Regions from separate parts of the Homo sapiens genome. Here regions 2, 3 and 4 are each linked to region 1. Evidence: promoter capture Hi-C in human tissues and cell types (Jung and others, 2019). All regions are on one chromosome and are shown on one strand. The core of a region is centred on a gene start or on the middle of the fragment in contact, and the rest is flanking DNA. Distances in the headings are between cores, read along the strand shown. Region 1 holds the start of CHP2 (calcineurin like EF-hand protein 2). Region 2 overlaps PRKCB (protein kinase C beta). Region 3 overlaps PRKCB (protein kinase C beta). Region 4 overlaps PRKCB (protein kinase C beta).

Region 1 (3,653 bases), core at 332-2,831:
AAACCCACACTCTAACTGCACCCATTCCCATTTCCCAACCAATACCCCAATTATCTGCGCCCCAGTTCCCCAATCATCCCACCCCATCTCTCACACCATTGCATTTAACCATCCCATCCTTCACACATCACATCTCTTGCTCTCGCTTTCTGCCAACCTGCAGCATCTCATGCCTGGAGATCTTCCCATCGCGATCCAGGTCATAGAGCTGAAATGCATCTGGGGAGAGGGTGGGAGGGGGAAAGGAAGGTAGGTCTTCCCTGGCTCTCTTCCAGCAGCCACCTTCCTTCCCCCCACCTTGGAGGAGGGGGGAGGTTGTCAATGCCCTCAGGAAGGGAGTGGGAGATCCCTGGAGCCTGTCCCTGGTGTGGGTACATCTGCATTCTCACTTGTGCAGGTCCTCACAAACTCACAGTGAAGTTTGTTCCTTCTGCTGTTGAGAGGTTCAGGTTTCTTGGGGTCTTGGGTTTCTGTGTCCTCATCTTCTACAGGGCGAAAATGAGCCAAGACCCTGACAAAGCCTGGGAAATCCACTCGCTGGCTCCTGGGGAGACGGGACAGAATGGAAAGAGGTGGTGGTCACCTTGGCCATCACTTTGCCTCCGTCTCTAACCTCCCCTCCCACCCACTCACACACCGGTTTTCCCGCCTTCACCTCCCCACGCCCAGCAAGCCTCACCCATCGGGGAAGAAGCTTTCTATAATTCGGTCTCCCAGGGGGTTCACGGCGAGCGCCCCTATCTGCTGGAGATCCATGCGGCTGCAAAGCCAAATTTCAAAGAGGGTAAGGCAGAGATGCCAGACGGAGGGTCAAAGAGGGACATGGAGTCAGAGAGACAGAGGCCAGAAGTTATGAGGCCGGCTCCCCCTCACCTCAGGTAGCCCTTCTTATTCCTGTCCAGTGCCCGGAACCGGTGGTGCAGGCGGAGCAGGCTGGCTTGGGAGACTGCGGGAAGGAGAGTGGGGTGGGGGTGTGTGACTCTGCAGGGCCAGCTCCAGAAACCCGCCCCAACAGGCCAGGAAGATGGGCCAGAACAGCGGGGGCTGGCTGGAAGGGGCGATCATCCCGGGGAATCAGGGGTTGAGCTGGCCGGGGCGGAGGGAGAGTGACACGACCCCGCGAAGATCCAGGTTCAAGACCCGGGCGGCTCGCAACCTCCCGAAAACCAAAGAACCAAAGCCATCCCTTCCAACCGCCGTCAGCTCTGCCTTCAGCTTCGAGCCGGGCTGGAGGACACCTGGGTGCCTGGATTCCTCTGGACTCCGACCCCGTGAACCCGGATCCTCCCCAGACTTGGAGGCTGGGACCCCTAGGTTAACCCGCCCCTAACCCAGCGATCCCAGGCACAGGGGCCTTGGTCTTCCAGCTCCGGGGAGCCCCGGACCCCAGACTTGTAAGTTCGTCCATCCTTCAACCCAACCCCTTCCCTAGCCCCAGACGCCTGGGTTCGCCCCGTCCCCTCCGCAGCCGCCGACGCGGGCGCACTCACAGCCGGTCTCTCGCCGAATACTGTCCCCGTCGGGAATGACCGCGGCGTGGGAGCTGCGCGACCCCATGGCCGAGCTGGAGGCGGAAGGGCCGGAGCAGCCACCCGGACCCACGCGTTCTCTCCTCCCGCCGGAGAGGCGTGGCCGCCCCAGTGGCCCCAGGGGGACGAAGGCCACAAGCCTGGCGCGCGGCCAAGCTCCAGAACCCCGGCGTGCCTCTCCTCCCACCCGCGACCCGGGCGAATGGAAAACAATGTGCAGGGTGGCGGGTCAGAGGGAGGCTGCGAACAACGGGCTGTTTCAGCTCCGAGATTTTGCGATCCGCACGGGAGAGGCTGGTCGAGTCCCAGGCCCCGCGTTTCCACGCCTCCCCCGGGGCCGGTTCCCACGGTGCGCCCTGACACCTGAGCCACCTCCTCCTTCGCGGGCCCCGGGCGCTCCCAACCCCAGGGCGCTCCCCGGCGTCGACGCTGAGGAAGCCTGGGAGACCTGACCTCCTCTGTAGAGACCACGCCCTGCTGGAAGGCGGGTGGCCTATGGGGAGGGAATCCTGGGGGGAGGGGGGAAGAGGCATCGAAGAACTCCCAAAGACGGGGAAGTGGGGAGGGGCGGCGAGATGAAGGGTGTGCGTTAGGTTAAGTGGAAAGAGCACTGGTTTGGGAGTCCTTGTTGGAATCCCAGCCGTGCCCGTGACTCTGGGAAAGTCAGTAAATCTTGGTTTCATCCCTTTTGTTCGGTTCACATTGCCTTATTGTTGTTTAATTGAGCCAATGCTTAAAATTCAGGAGATTTAACCCAAAATCCACATTCTTGGCTTTTCCTGAGAAATCAGAAGTTCTATCACCACCAGGCCCAGAGCTGTCTTCTGGCCACAGTCCCTCCAAGCCCAATTCACTCCCTTAGGTACCTACTGATCCCGTAGAGCTCCAGACTGGGAATGACTTAGTCCTCTGAACAGCCCTCCAGAGCCATGGGACTCCTTGGCCCAAGAGAGGGTTACAGACATCACTGGGACTAGGCTTAAAGCAAGAATGACAACAAGGGCTCTTGTTTACCACGCTTTGCTAAGCACTTTACGTGCATCCGTTCACACATTCCTTGTAGGCCCTGCTGGGCTGCTTTCTTCTAATTTTACGTGGTGGAGGCTGCCGGGGGCAAGTTGTGAACTAATTATGTAAAGCGTGCATTCTCAGTGCGGTCTCTATCTCACCCCAACGGGGCAAAAAATAAAACATATTTTTTATGTACAAAGCACAGCATACATACAGCACATAAATAGATATACAGTATAGCTGTGATATTGAAATTTCAGGGCAGACGTGGAGGCTCATGCCTGTAATCCCAGCACTTTGGGAGGTAGAGGCAGGAGGATTGCTTGAGCCCAGGAGCTCAAGACCAGCCTAGGCAACATAGTGAGACCCCATCTCTACAAAAGAATACAAAAAAAAAAAATTAACCAGGTGTCGTGGCACATGCCTGTAGTCTCAGCTACTTGGGAGTCTGAGACAGGAGGATCACTTGAGCCCAGGAGGTTGAGGCTGCAGGGAGCCATGATCACGCCATTACACTCCAGCCTGGGTGACAGAGTGAGACCCTGTCTTGAAAAGAAAAGAGGCCGGGCGCGGTGGCTTATGCCTGTAATCCCAGCACTTTGGGAGGTCGAGACGGGCGGATCACCTGAGGTCAGGAGTTTGAGACCAGACTGACCAACATGGAGAAACCCAGTCTCTACTAAAAATACAAAATTAGCTGGGCGTGGTGGTGCATGCCTGTAATTCCAGCTACTCGGGAGGCTGAGGCAGGAGAATCGCTTGAACCCGGGAGGTGGAGATTGAGGTGAGCCTAGATCGCGCCATTGCACACCATCTTGGGCAAAAAGATCGAAACTTGGTCTCAAAAAAAAAAAAAGAAAGAAAATAAAATTTCATGGGGTAGGGGTGAGGGTGGGGAAATTAAAAAGACTAGGGGAGGCGTTGATAATGAAAAAAAAACAGGTCGAGAAACTCATTTGTCAAGGGACAAACACTAGAAGTGTCCACTTTTGAAAGTATCTTTAAACCGTTTCCCCCATCATAATTGCACATACATACACAAATTTCCCAGGGGGGAAAACATGCAAGCAGTTCATTGCAAGGGCTCAAGTTCATATCCACCCTGGAGAGAGA
Region 2 (3,843 bases), core at 378-2,877, 230 kb before region 1:
GCAGGAGGATCACTTGAGCCCAGGAGTTTAAGACCAACCTGGGCAACATAGTGAGACCCCATCTCTACAAAAAATAAAAGATTAGCCAGACATGGTGGTGCATGCCTGCAGTCCAGCTACTCCGGAGGCTGAGGTGGGAGGATCGCTTGAGCCCAGGAAGTTGGGGCTGCAGTGAGCCATGACTGCACCACTGCACTCCAGCCTGGGTGACCTAATGAGACCCTGTTTCAAAAATAAATACATAAATAAATAAAAATATAAAAACTACTATGTATTCCTTTTAAACCACTAAAAGGGAAAACTGGACAAAGAAAGACAGTCCAAGTACACCTCAAACAGCCTTCTTCATGCTCCAAGGTCATATAAATATTACTCTTTGGAGTTTTTTTGTACTTTTATATGGCATCATTTCCACTTTAAACTCTTTGATCCATGTCTAATTTCTTGGAATCTGATGTGAAATGGGAATCCAATTTGCCATTTTTTTCCAAAGAGGTAACCAATTGTCCCAGCATCCTTTATTGAATAATTCATCCCTTCCCCACTGATTTCAAATGCCAACTTTATTATATGTTTAATAATTATATATACTGGGGTCTGTCTTTGGGCCTTCTATTCTGTGCCACTGATCTGTCTTCTAGTATAGCAATATGGGCTTTAATTATAGTAGCTCTGTAATATGTTATATCTTGGCAGGGCAAGTCCACCCTCATTATCCTTATTTTCAACATTTTCTTGGCTATCACTGCATATTTATTCTTCCAAGTAAACTTTAGAATCAGTTTATCAAGATTTTAAAAATACCAATGGAATTTTTATTGGGATTGTATTCAGTCAACCCTCAGCCTCCAAAAAATGATTGGGACTTTGATTGAAATTGTGTTAAATTTAGAAATTAAATTCAAGATAATTGATGCCTTGACAACAATGAGTCTTTCCATCAGGAAATGATTGTCCCCTTGTTGAACTCTTATTTTCTCCATATAAGTCCTACACATTTTCCCTTTAGCATCATCTAAGGGATTCTTTTTTATGCTATTGTAAATTTGACATGTCTTCATTTTGTTTCCCAACTGGTCATTGTTTAAAAATAGGAAAGCAAATAGCTGTGCGCAGTGGTTCATGCCTGTAATCCTAGCACTTTGGGAGACTGAGGCAGGCAGATCACTTGAGGCCAGAAGTTCGAGACCAGCCTGGCCAACATGGTGAAACCCCGTCTCTATTAAAAATACAAAAAAAATTAGCTGGGCGTGGTGGTAGGTGCCTGTAGTAGTCCCAGGTACTTGGAAGGCTGAGGCAGTAGATTGCTTGAACCCAGGAGGCGGAGGTTGAAGTGAGCCAATATCATGCCACTGCACTCCAGCCTGGGCAACAGAGCGAGACTCCATCTCAAAACACAAAACAAACAAACAAACAAAAACAATAGGAAAGCAATAGATTGTTAGCATATTTATTTTAAAGCATTTTTTAAAAAAACTCAAATAGCTTTTGTGGAGTTTTAGTTGCTTCCTTTGAGTTTTCCAGATAGAAAACCGTATTACCCCAAATAATATTTTTATTATTCTCTCTTTTCCCCCTGTCGTAGTTCCATGTTTAACTTTCCCTTTTATTCAACATGAAAGTAAAGGGATGACAGCATAGTCTCGCCCCATCCCTGAGCTTTCCCCAGCTTCACCTCCCTCTCCCTCTCTACACTTCAACCACACAGGAAAGTTTTTCACCTCTACTCAAACAAACTTTTGGAATTTATATTTTCCTTGGAAATTATCCACAGTGTTCTTCTCAACGTGTTTAAATTGTAGCATCTTATCTGGGATGATATTACACCTTTTCTCTTTCTTTGTTTCTTTCTTCATATTGCATTGTTAGGTAGTCTCTCGTTATTTTTTTTCCAGAAGTTTGTGTTCTTTCTTGTCTATTTTTATCTTTCTATCATGTTAAAGAAGCAGATTATGATTATATTTATCAACTCTACCTGGTTTTAGCCTACTTTATTAATTGCTACTTTAACTTTTTTTGTTCTGTGTGTCTGTGATTGTATTGCTTACTTGTATTTGTATTACTTATTGGTTGGGAATGTGAATTCTGGAGTCTGATGATCAGGTGTATATCCTGTGTCTATCATTTGCAAACTCTAAGACTAGGTACACTACCTCATCTTCCTGTACTTCAGTTTCCTCTCTGGAAAATGACAGCAACAATAGGACCCATATCACAGTGGTGTTGTCAGAACTAAATGAGTTATTCCATGCCCAGAACCATGCCAACCATATCATGACTATTCTACAAATGTCAGCTAATATTATCCACTGTTCTTTTTAAAGCTTCTTGAATTGACTGCTCAATTAATTTATTCCCATTCCTCTTCATTAAACATTTAAAGATGTTATGGCTAAAAACCCTCTTTTAAGTACAGTTTTGGCTGCATCCTATGTTTTATATTTAGTCCCATCATTGTATCAAGTTTCTAAGTGGTCTATTAGTATGGTTTTAATTTATTCTTTGACCCAGAAATATTTAGGAAAGTAGTTTCCCCCATTTTCAAGTAGGTGCTTTATTCTACAACCTTTCTTCCAAACATCTAAAATATCAGTTATTCTCTACAAAAAATACAAAAATTAGCAAAGTGTGGTGGCAGGCCCCGGTAATCCCAGCTACCCAGGAGACTGAGGCAGGAGAATCACTGGAACCAGGGAGGCAGAGGCTGCAGTGAGCCGAGATCACGCCACTGCACTCCAGCCTAAGAGACAGAGCGAGACTCTGTCTCAAAAAAAAAAATCAATTATTATCTTATTCATCTTTATCCCCTTTGGAGACAGAAGGGGATAAAGATAGCTCATCTCTAGTCTCCTAGTGTCTACCACAATTCCTGGTACATAATTGATATTCAGTAAATAAATGTTTGGTGAATGAATGAACCAAAAAATGAATATCATCAGTCATAGAAAAAGGAGAAAACATAACCAACTTCATGGTAGATGTAGCTCCTGGATGATCGCCTGACATCCCACCAGCCTGGATATTTGTCAATCCAACCATTGACAAGGTCACTTTAGGTAGGCTTCCAATTACCCACAGAAATGAATAGTCCATCCCCACTGAGGCAGAATCAATAGGCCAAGTGAACCCCAGCATGATGTGCAGAGAAGCTGAGAACAGACTTTGAAAAACCTCATGAGCTTCTGGTGCAGGTAATTCCTTTACACAGTGTGTTTCTGAAAAGTTGTGCAAATCAAATTTCCCATTAACTAAAACACTTTGAAGAAAATAGTAGGGCTGCCTATTTAAAGAAATCAAATCCTTTTGTGACACAAATAAACGCCCCCTCATTTCTATTTGGCAAATTCAGAGTAAGACCAGTTTTTGTTTTCTGTTTTTTTTTTTTTTAAGAAGAGGCAACATTTACTGAGCTACTGAAAAAAATGTACTAGACCCTACTTTCAAACAGGTACCCAGTTAAGAGCCCAGAATCTCCAGATGCTTCATAATTTATTCAATAACCCCTTGCTCTACAAAGGTTGAAAGCCTGCAGCCCTCTGACCCCAGTCTATAGCAAGGCTTTACTAGAACTACAAAATGGGGTCTGAAACTCAAATGCCTAGGGGCCAGGTGAGCAATGAAAATGTCTGACGGCCAGGTAGGGGACTGCACACATGGCCTGTTTAAAAGGGGAAATTGCTACTCAGCTCCAGCAGAGAATGAAAAAGATGTCTCCGGCTCTATCCACCTCCCACCCTCCCTTATTACAGGCAAGATCAGAAAGGCCACCTGCAGCTGAGTGCAGTGGCTCACACCTATAATCCTAGCACTTTGGGAGGTCGAGGCAGGAGGATTGCTTGAGCC
Region 3 (3,883 bases), core at 849-3,348, 130 kb before region 1:
TTGCTTGCCAACAGCATTCAGCTTCCTGGGTGAAGAGATCACAGAAAGGCAGCAAGGAAGATGGCCCTAAATGTTCTCCTCCAGCAGTCTGCTCCTGTGGCCTGGCCCTGCTACAGCCCATGAGGACCCACCATCTCCTAGAGGAGGGCCAGCCTGCCAACTCATGGAGCCAATAGGCCCACTCAGAGAGCTTTCACGGAGCTTCCTTTAGCTGAGCCAAGCTGTGCCTTCCGCTGTTTGGTCCAAGTGTCTCAACTCAACAACCTCAAAAGTCACTTGGTATCAGCATCTGTCCTAAGAGGCAGCCTGAAACTAGAGAGAGCATTGATTTATTGGTGAGAACACAGCAGCCCACCAGGGAGAAAGGGATTGCCTGAAGTCCTCCTCTAGGTAGTCCTTGCAAGAACCAAGCTGGGAAAACAAAGAAGGGGACTTGATGCGCTAAAGGAGGAGGGAGAAATGAGAGTTCAGCAAGTCAGATTCTTGCAATTAACTGTCAGATGCAGGTGTGCTCAAGAAAAAACTAGACCTGGGAAGATCATGGGGACCCTGCTGGAGAGAAAAAGGCCAGGACCATACAGCTGCCAGCCTTTGGGCCCAGCACCCCCAGCTGGAGAATCCTTCAAGCATTCTGCCTGCTGGCCACTCAGATAGCTTATGCAGTGCCTTGGTGAGATTACGGAGAAAAAAGGACGCTCTTACACTGTTGGTGAAATTGTAAATTAGTTCAGCCCCTCTGGGAAGCAGTTTAGAGACTTCTCAAAGAACTAAAAATAGAATTGCCATTCAATCCAGCATTCCCATTACTGGGTATATACCCAAAGGAAAACACATCATTCCACCAAAAAGACACCTTCACTCTCATGTTTATTGCATCACTGTCCATAACAGCAAAAACATGGAATCCACCTAGGTGCCCATCAACAATGGATTGGATAAAGAAAATGTGGTGCATATACACTATGGAATACTACACAGCCATAAAAAAAATGAAATCATGTCCTTTGCAGCAACATGGATGCAGCTGAAGGCCATTATCCTAAGTGAATTATCACAGAAAAACAGAAAACCAAATACCACATGTTCTCACCTATAGTGGAAGCTAAACAAGGGGTATACACAGACACAAATATGGAAACAACAGACACTGGGAACTCGGAAAGGAGGGAGAGAAGGGGGTAACGGTTTAAAAACTACCTACTGGGTACTATGCTCACTATTTGGGTAACAAGTTCATTGCCTAAACCTCAGCATCACGCAATATACCCATGTGACAAACTTGCACACATACTCCATGAATCTAAAATAAAAAACAAAATATGTTTCAAAGAATGGGGCATTTTATTTCTATCCTACAAGCATATCTGTCTACAATATTTGCTTTCAGTGACAGAAAGCAAGAAAGCAAGAAAGAAAGCAAGAAAGCAAGAAGGAAAGAAAGAGAGAGAAAGAAAGAAGGAAAGAAAGAAAAGAAAACTCATGCAATGCCCTGGGATTTACAGATTCGTTCCAGAGGCAGCTTTGGAAAAGAAATGGAGTGGAAAGACGCCCATGGCCCCAGTGACCCCCCAAGAAAAGAGAACTTCCTTTCCTTAAGTCCAAGCTGACAGGTAGAGAACTAAGTCAGGCTGAAATTAGGAAAGTGGGAAGGAGGGACATGCACCAAGGAAAGAGAGGGTCTGTGGCTGCTACAGGCAGAGATGAAGGGGACAGATAGAGCATGAGGCATAAAAGGAGATAAATGAAAATGATGATAGGCCCATACTGAGCCCCTGCTGAAGCCAAGAAATCTGTTCAACTCATAACACGGCTGGGCACGGTGGCTCACGCCTGTAATCCCAGCACTTCGGGAGGCCAAGGCAGGCCGATCACTTGAGGTCAGGAGTTCGAGACCAGCCTGGCCAACATAGTGAAACCTCGTCTCTACTAAAAATACAAAAATTAGTCAGGCGTGGTGGTGCGTGCCTGTAATCCCAGCTACTCAGGAGGCTGAGGCAGAAGAATCGGTTGAACCCAGGAGGCGGAGGTTGCAGTGAGCCAAGATCATGCCATTGCACTCCAGCCTGGGCGACAGAGTGAGACTTCATCAAAAAAAAAAAAAAAAAAAAAAAAAACACCTAACACACCATAGTCCAACCCTCGCAGTGACTCTAAGAGGTAAAGATGACGTTGAATGTTTTGCCCAAAGTCCCACAGACAGGGATTTGAGAAGAACTGAGTCTCCTAGAGTAAAAGAATCAAGGAGAACCAGGCAAGAGAAGCCTCTCTCAAGAAAAGCCTTGATCCATCTGCAAGTCAAAGGAAACTTTCTTAGCACAGCCAGACTAATGCCAACCAACAGCAAAGATGATGGTTAAGGATACTTCTTGCTGTGATGCTTAGATTTGGATCTCAGCTCTGTGACCTTCAGCAAATCTACTGACCTCTTAGGACCTCAGTTTCTACAGCTGTAATACAACACACTTGTCTCAAAGAGTTGGTTTGAGGATTCAAAGAGAAAATAAATGTAATTTATTAGCACATTTCCAGCACATGGCAATCAATCAATGAAAGTTTGTTGTTGTTAATGTTGTTAGTATCACAATCCTCAAACCTCCTGCCGCCCAATATCGAGTCAAAAAGAAATACACTAAGGCCAAGGCCACCTTACTACAAGATCAACCTGGTGATGGCTCACAGGATTTTTAAGAGATCTAGAAAGACATCCAAAAAATATTTCCCCGCCAGCTTCCTCGTGTCTGAAATATATATTTTCCAGCACACAGTGGCTTTCATTTCCCATTTAAAAATAAATCCAGTGCAAATACAGATTCACACTAGGGGAAGGAGCTGGGTAGCTTGGAAATCAGAGTTGAGAGTGAATCAGAAGAGAATGCCAGAAAAGGGGGCAAAGAGGGGAAACCAGCTGTGGATAGGCCAGGCACAGTGGCTCATGCCTGTAATCCCAGCACTTTGGGAGGCCAAGGCAGGTAGATCACTAGGTCAGGAGTTTGAGACCAGCCTGGCCAAGATGGTGAAACCCCATCTCTACTAAAAATACAAAAATTAGCTGGGCGTGGTGGCGGGCGCCTATAACCTCAGCTACTCGGGAGGCTGAGGCAGGAGAATGGCTTGAACTAGGGAGGCGGAGACTGCAGTGAGCCGAGATCATGCCACTGCACTCCAGCCTGGGTGACAGAGCAAGACTCCGTCTCAAAAAAGAAAAGAAAAAGAAAAAAAGAGCTGTGGATAGTGGTAAAAAGCCACAGGATCTCCCATCTGCTTAAGAAACAGAATTGATTCAGTTAGTTAAAAAGCTTAATGATTAGTGAATTTCACTCCTAAAGAAATAATAAGAGTAAAGGGTAGCAGGAGAAGGTTAAATCATAGAGTTAGTGTCTGGCATATAGCAGGCTCTAATAAACAACATGTATCATTATTACTTATTATTATCGTTATTGTTAATTCCTTATAATCTTCACAATAACTACTTAAAAGTAGGCATTACTATTATCTTGAGTTTGCTGGCAAGGAAACTAAAATCCAGAGAAATTAAATAACTTGCCCAAGATCATCCATCTTGAGAACCTGGGAGTGCCCTGCACCTATTATATCCATTCAATCATCCATATTTGCTGAACAACTAAATGATCGCATGAACCAAAGGGCTACTAGAATGCCACAAAAGAAAAGGAGATATGGGCTAGGCATTGTGGCTCACACCTGTCATCCTAGCACTTTGGGAGGCTGAGGTGGGAGGACTGCTTGAGTCCAGGAGTTTGAGACCAGTCTGGGCAACACAGTGAGACCTTGCAGCTACAAAAAATAAAAATAAAAAAATTAGCCAGGCATGGTGGTGTGTTCCTGTAGTCCCAGCTACTTAGGAGGCTGAGGTGGGAGGATT
Region 4 (3,672 bases), core at 714-3,213, 180 kb before region 1:
CCAGTAACGAACAGACTACAAGGGATTAGGCGCACGTATAAACACTGACAATTCCTAACCTGAAACAGACAATGGTCTAGATATATAAAAATTCTATACGCTGAAAATATTTTATGGAACTTATTAATGTAACAAAGGTAAGTACATCTACATGAGAAACAGCAATTCCTAAGAATCAAAAAATAAAGAATATCTTCCTATTAAAATAATACTTATCCCCTGAAGGCAGCATTCCTAATTCAATCCCACAGGATTCCTCTGAAAACATACCCTGGCCCTTTCCAGCCCACAAAGCCACGCCTGAAGCCAACAGTGCTTGAATATGTTGAAAGAAGCTCCAGGGAATAAAATAAGGGAAAACTAGAGCTTTTAATGTCAAAAAAAAAAAAAAAAAACAGCTTTTTTCCTCAATGCCTAAAAATCAACGTTTCTTAGAAATGCCAGACACTGCAGAAGGCAAAGTGTCCCTAGAGAGAGGCCAGGCAGAATCCCATTCACTCCTCACCATAGCTATCTAATATCAATTCTCTACACGTGACCTAACTGAAGAAGGAAAAGCATTTTATACCCAGCTGATAATAGACAGAACCAAGCAAGTCCAGGAAGGAAATCCTCCATTGATCAAAGGGAAAGTTTCGTAAAAAGAAAGTCAAATGGGTGGATGGATGGATGGATGGATGGATGGATGGATGAGTGGGTAGAAAATCAACAAACAGAAGATGATGGATGGATGGATGGATGGATGGATGGATGAGGTAGGTGGATGGATGGATGGATGGATGGATGAATGGAAGGATGGATGGATGGATGGGTAGAAAATTGACAAACAAGATGATGGATGGATGGATGGATGGATGGATGGATGGATGAATAGAAAATCGACAAACAGAAGATGGATGGATGGGTGGATGGATGGATGGATGGATGGATGGATGGATGGATGGAGTGGATAGATGGATAGATGGATGGACGAATGGATGGATGGATAGATGGATGGATGAATGGATGGATGGATAGAAAATCAACAAACAGAAGATGATGGATGGATGGATGGATGGATGGATGGATGGATGGATGGATGGATATCAGTTCACACCACTCTCAAAAGGCTCTGCAAACCAGTCTATAATATAATAATTGAAGGTCTTCTGGTAGAAAATGTTAATTTTCTGATTTAAAATATTATCTTCCCCAACAATGCATGCTCTTTCACCTCATTTTCCTCCCAAACCTCCAAATTATGAAGCCTAACTGTATCAATTAAGAATCTTCTGGCTTGAATTAACAGAAGAGCCAACCATATGCAACTTAACCAAAAGGGGCTCATCAATAAATATCATCCCCAAAATAATAAAGTCTGAAAGAAGGAGGTATGAGTGTCTCAAGAATGACAGTGCTCTCAGTCAGTGTTGCTACAAATCTAGGCACCTGTTCATAGTCATAATGTGGCTGCCATAGCTCCAACAATTATGTCCTCACCTAACAGCCTCCAGAGCAGGAAGAAAGGATGAAAAGAAAGAGTCTTTCCTACATGACCCAAACTGGGTCCAGTGCCCACTTCCAGACCAATCACTGAAAGGGAAATAATCATGGGTCATGCATGCACTGTCCCCTGGGCACATTGCCACCGAACAAAACTAGAAACAAAGAAGGAATCGCCATTGGATGGGTAGCTAATAGCATCTGCTACAGCATTCATTCTCACTTCCAAATCCCAGATACCCACAAGACCCCCTTCAATCAGAACTGCATCCTCGTAATTCTGAAATTCTCCCTCCAGAAAGATTCCAGTAACCCATTCCCTTCATGACAAAGTTTTCCATCTTCATCTCCTTAGCTGTTTCTCAGAGTACTTAAGATTTGCAAGCAACAGAACCCCACTAAAAGCCCCCAGTTCAAGCAAAGGAATAAGTCTGTTACAAGGAAACAGAAACCAGGGAAAGGAACAGCAGTTTGACTTCAATGCAGGATTGTCAGGAACCAAGGCAACTGCTTCCCCCATCCCTCTGGTCCACATGACCTCTGAGCCAGCTTCACTTGTCTGTCTCTCTGAAGATAAGCTTTCTCTATTTTTTGATGCACATTGCATGATTCCTGAGATGCCTGATCCTTCCAGTCTGCTGTTGATGGAGGCTAGCTGGCATTTCTGAATGCTAACTCCCAGTCCCCAGAGAGAGGATCAAGTGGAGCCATACCTGGTTCAGTCAGGGATCAGCAGGAATGCTGGGTCACATTGTTCGAACATAGGTGCTAGGGACTACACCTTGGGGCCTTTTTGCCAAAAAATAGGAAATGCATAGGTTCCTCCCCACCTAGCATCGCTTAGTTTTATTTTACCCATAAATTCTTCAGCATATCTCCACAGATAAGAACAACAAAAAAGCAACCACAATTCCATTATCCCACCCAGTAAAAGCAATAACAATTCTTTATTATCATTTTATATTTCAGTTAATGTTTCCTTCTCCTTGATTATCTCACAATGTTTTCTTTATGGATGATTTGTTTGAATTTATTTCCAAATGAGGTCCACACACTATCTTAGATTGCTATATCTTTTAATTCTATTTTTTTCACACTTCCATGCCATTGGTTTCGTGAAGAAATCAAGTTATTTCTATGTAGAATTTCCTACATATTCTCTGTATTTCCTGTAAATTTGGTTAGATCTTTAGTAATAATATTGCATAGATAGCATTGGCCACTTCTATTTGCATCATATTAGAAGATATATAATGTCTATTTGACTTTCTGTGATATTGAGATTGATAATTACTGAAATTATATGGTGTCTGGGATTTATTTCAAAACATCCAGTATGGAAATGGAGTGAAAAGCATTGGGTGCGGATATGGATGAAAGAGGATTAGCCAAGAATTGATCATTGTTAAGGAAATGCATAGGCTTTCAAGTCATCCTAAAAGGATCTATACAAACTGTCTTTATAGGAACTTCATTATTTTGCACTGGACTCCAAGACCCAGCAGGCCAGAAGGCCGGGAAGTAAAAGGCACCAGCCCTCCCAGAACGACCACCTGACCTCCCCGTCTCGGTAGCACAGCTGGAAAGGAGGGAGGAAGCTTCTACTGATTGGCAGTGCCGCATCTTGCCTGGCACCTGTCCTCTCGCTTCTCTCCTCCCCACTCAGCCTCAGGTTGGCACCTGCTCAGGTCTCTTCTCACACCCTCACCCCAACCTGATGACACTCAGCCTAGCATCAGAACTCCCCACTGGGCTTCTCTTTGCCAAAATCTTTCCCACACAGGGGTCCCTGTCTTCCAGCTCACTCCACGCACATGTCTACCTCAGAAGTGAGCTCAGGCTATTTTAAACTACTGTAGCTGTCTGCCATCTGTCTTGTCTGGAGGCCTCCTGGTCTACTGAGAGGAGAATAGAACTGAATTTGGAAACACAGAAACTGAATTCTGGTCCTGGTCCCACCTTTAGCTCCAGAATCTTGGGACAACCATGGCATCCCTCTTGGAACTGATAAAGAAAACTCCCCTTTGGTTAGCTCCTGGGGCTAACAGCGGCATTAAAGGTGAAAGATAAAAAAGCTGGACAGTAAGGTCTTTGAGCGTGTCTTCACTGACCCCTAACAATGCCAATCACAGCTGGGCATTTTTCAGAAATTAAAGACTTCCTTTACTTATCTGTCAAGACACTCACAGT

Evidence for each region. Contacts are between HindIII fragments. The study calls those that stand out against the background at their distance.
Region 2: a fragment that was not itself captured here is called in contact with the fragment with the promoter of CHP2 in region 1 in 2 of the 25 tissues and cell types used here (H1 embryonic stem cells and dorsolateral prefrontal cortex).
Region 3: a contact is called between a fragment that was not itself captured here and the fragment with the promoter of CHP2 in region 1, in 3 of the 25 tissues and cell types used here (liver, pancreas and spleen).
Region 4: a fragment that was not itself captured here is called in contact with the fragment with the promoter of CHP2 in region 1 in 3 of the 25 tissues and cell types used here (dorsolateral prefrontal cortex, mesendoderm cells and spleen).

The regions. Positions count from the first base shown.
Region 1 is chr16:23,752,954-23,756,606 of GRCh38, reverse strand. It overlaps CHP2 (calcineurin like EF-hand protein 2), which reads right to left and starts at 1,581. Exons shown (of 7, transcript NM_022097.4): 1 at 1,491-1,581; 2 at 874-946; 3 at 680-760; 4 at 414-544; 5 at 158-219. The coding sequence starts at 1,557. RefSeq lists an enhancer at 1,048-1,693. The HindIII fragment of the contact is 8,876 bases long and covers 1-3,653 here.
Region 2 is chr16:23,982,658-23,986,500 of GRCh38, reverse strand. All of the region lies in intron 2 of PRKCB (protein kinase C beta), which reads right to left. Among named protein-coding and RNA genes, the nearest start is that of PRKCB, 150 kb to the right of the region's middle. The HindIII fragment of the contact is 4,596 bases long and covers 1-3,843 here.
Region 3 is chr16:23,884,638-23,888,520 of GRCh38, reverse strand. All of the region lies in intron 2 of PRKCB (protein kinase C beta), which reads right to left. Among named protein-coding and RNA genes, the nearest start is that of PRKCB, 51 kb to the right of the region's middle. The HindIII fragment of the contact is 8,089 bases long and covers 1-3,883 here.
Region 4 is chr16:23,931,042-23,934,713 of GRCh38, reverse strand. The region is part of intron 2 of PRKCB (protein kinase C beta); the gene reads right to left. Among named protein-coding and RNA genes, the nearest start is that of PRKCB, 97 kb to the right of the region's middle. The HindIII fragment of the contact is 4,393 bases long and covers 1-3,672 here.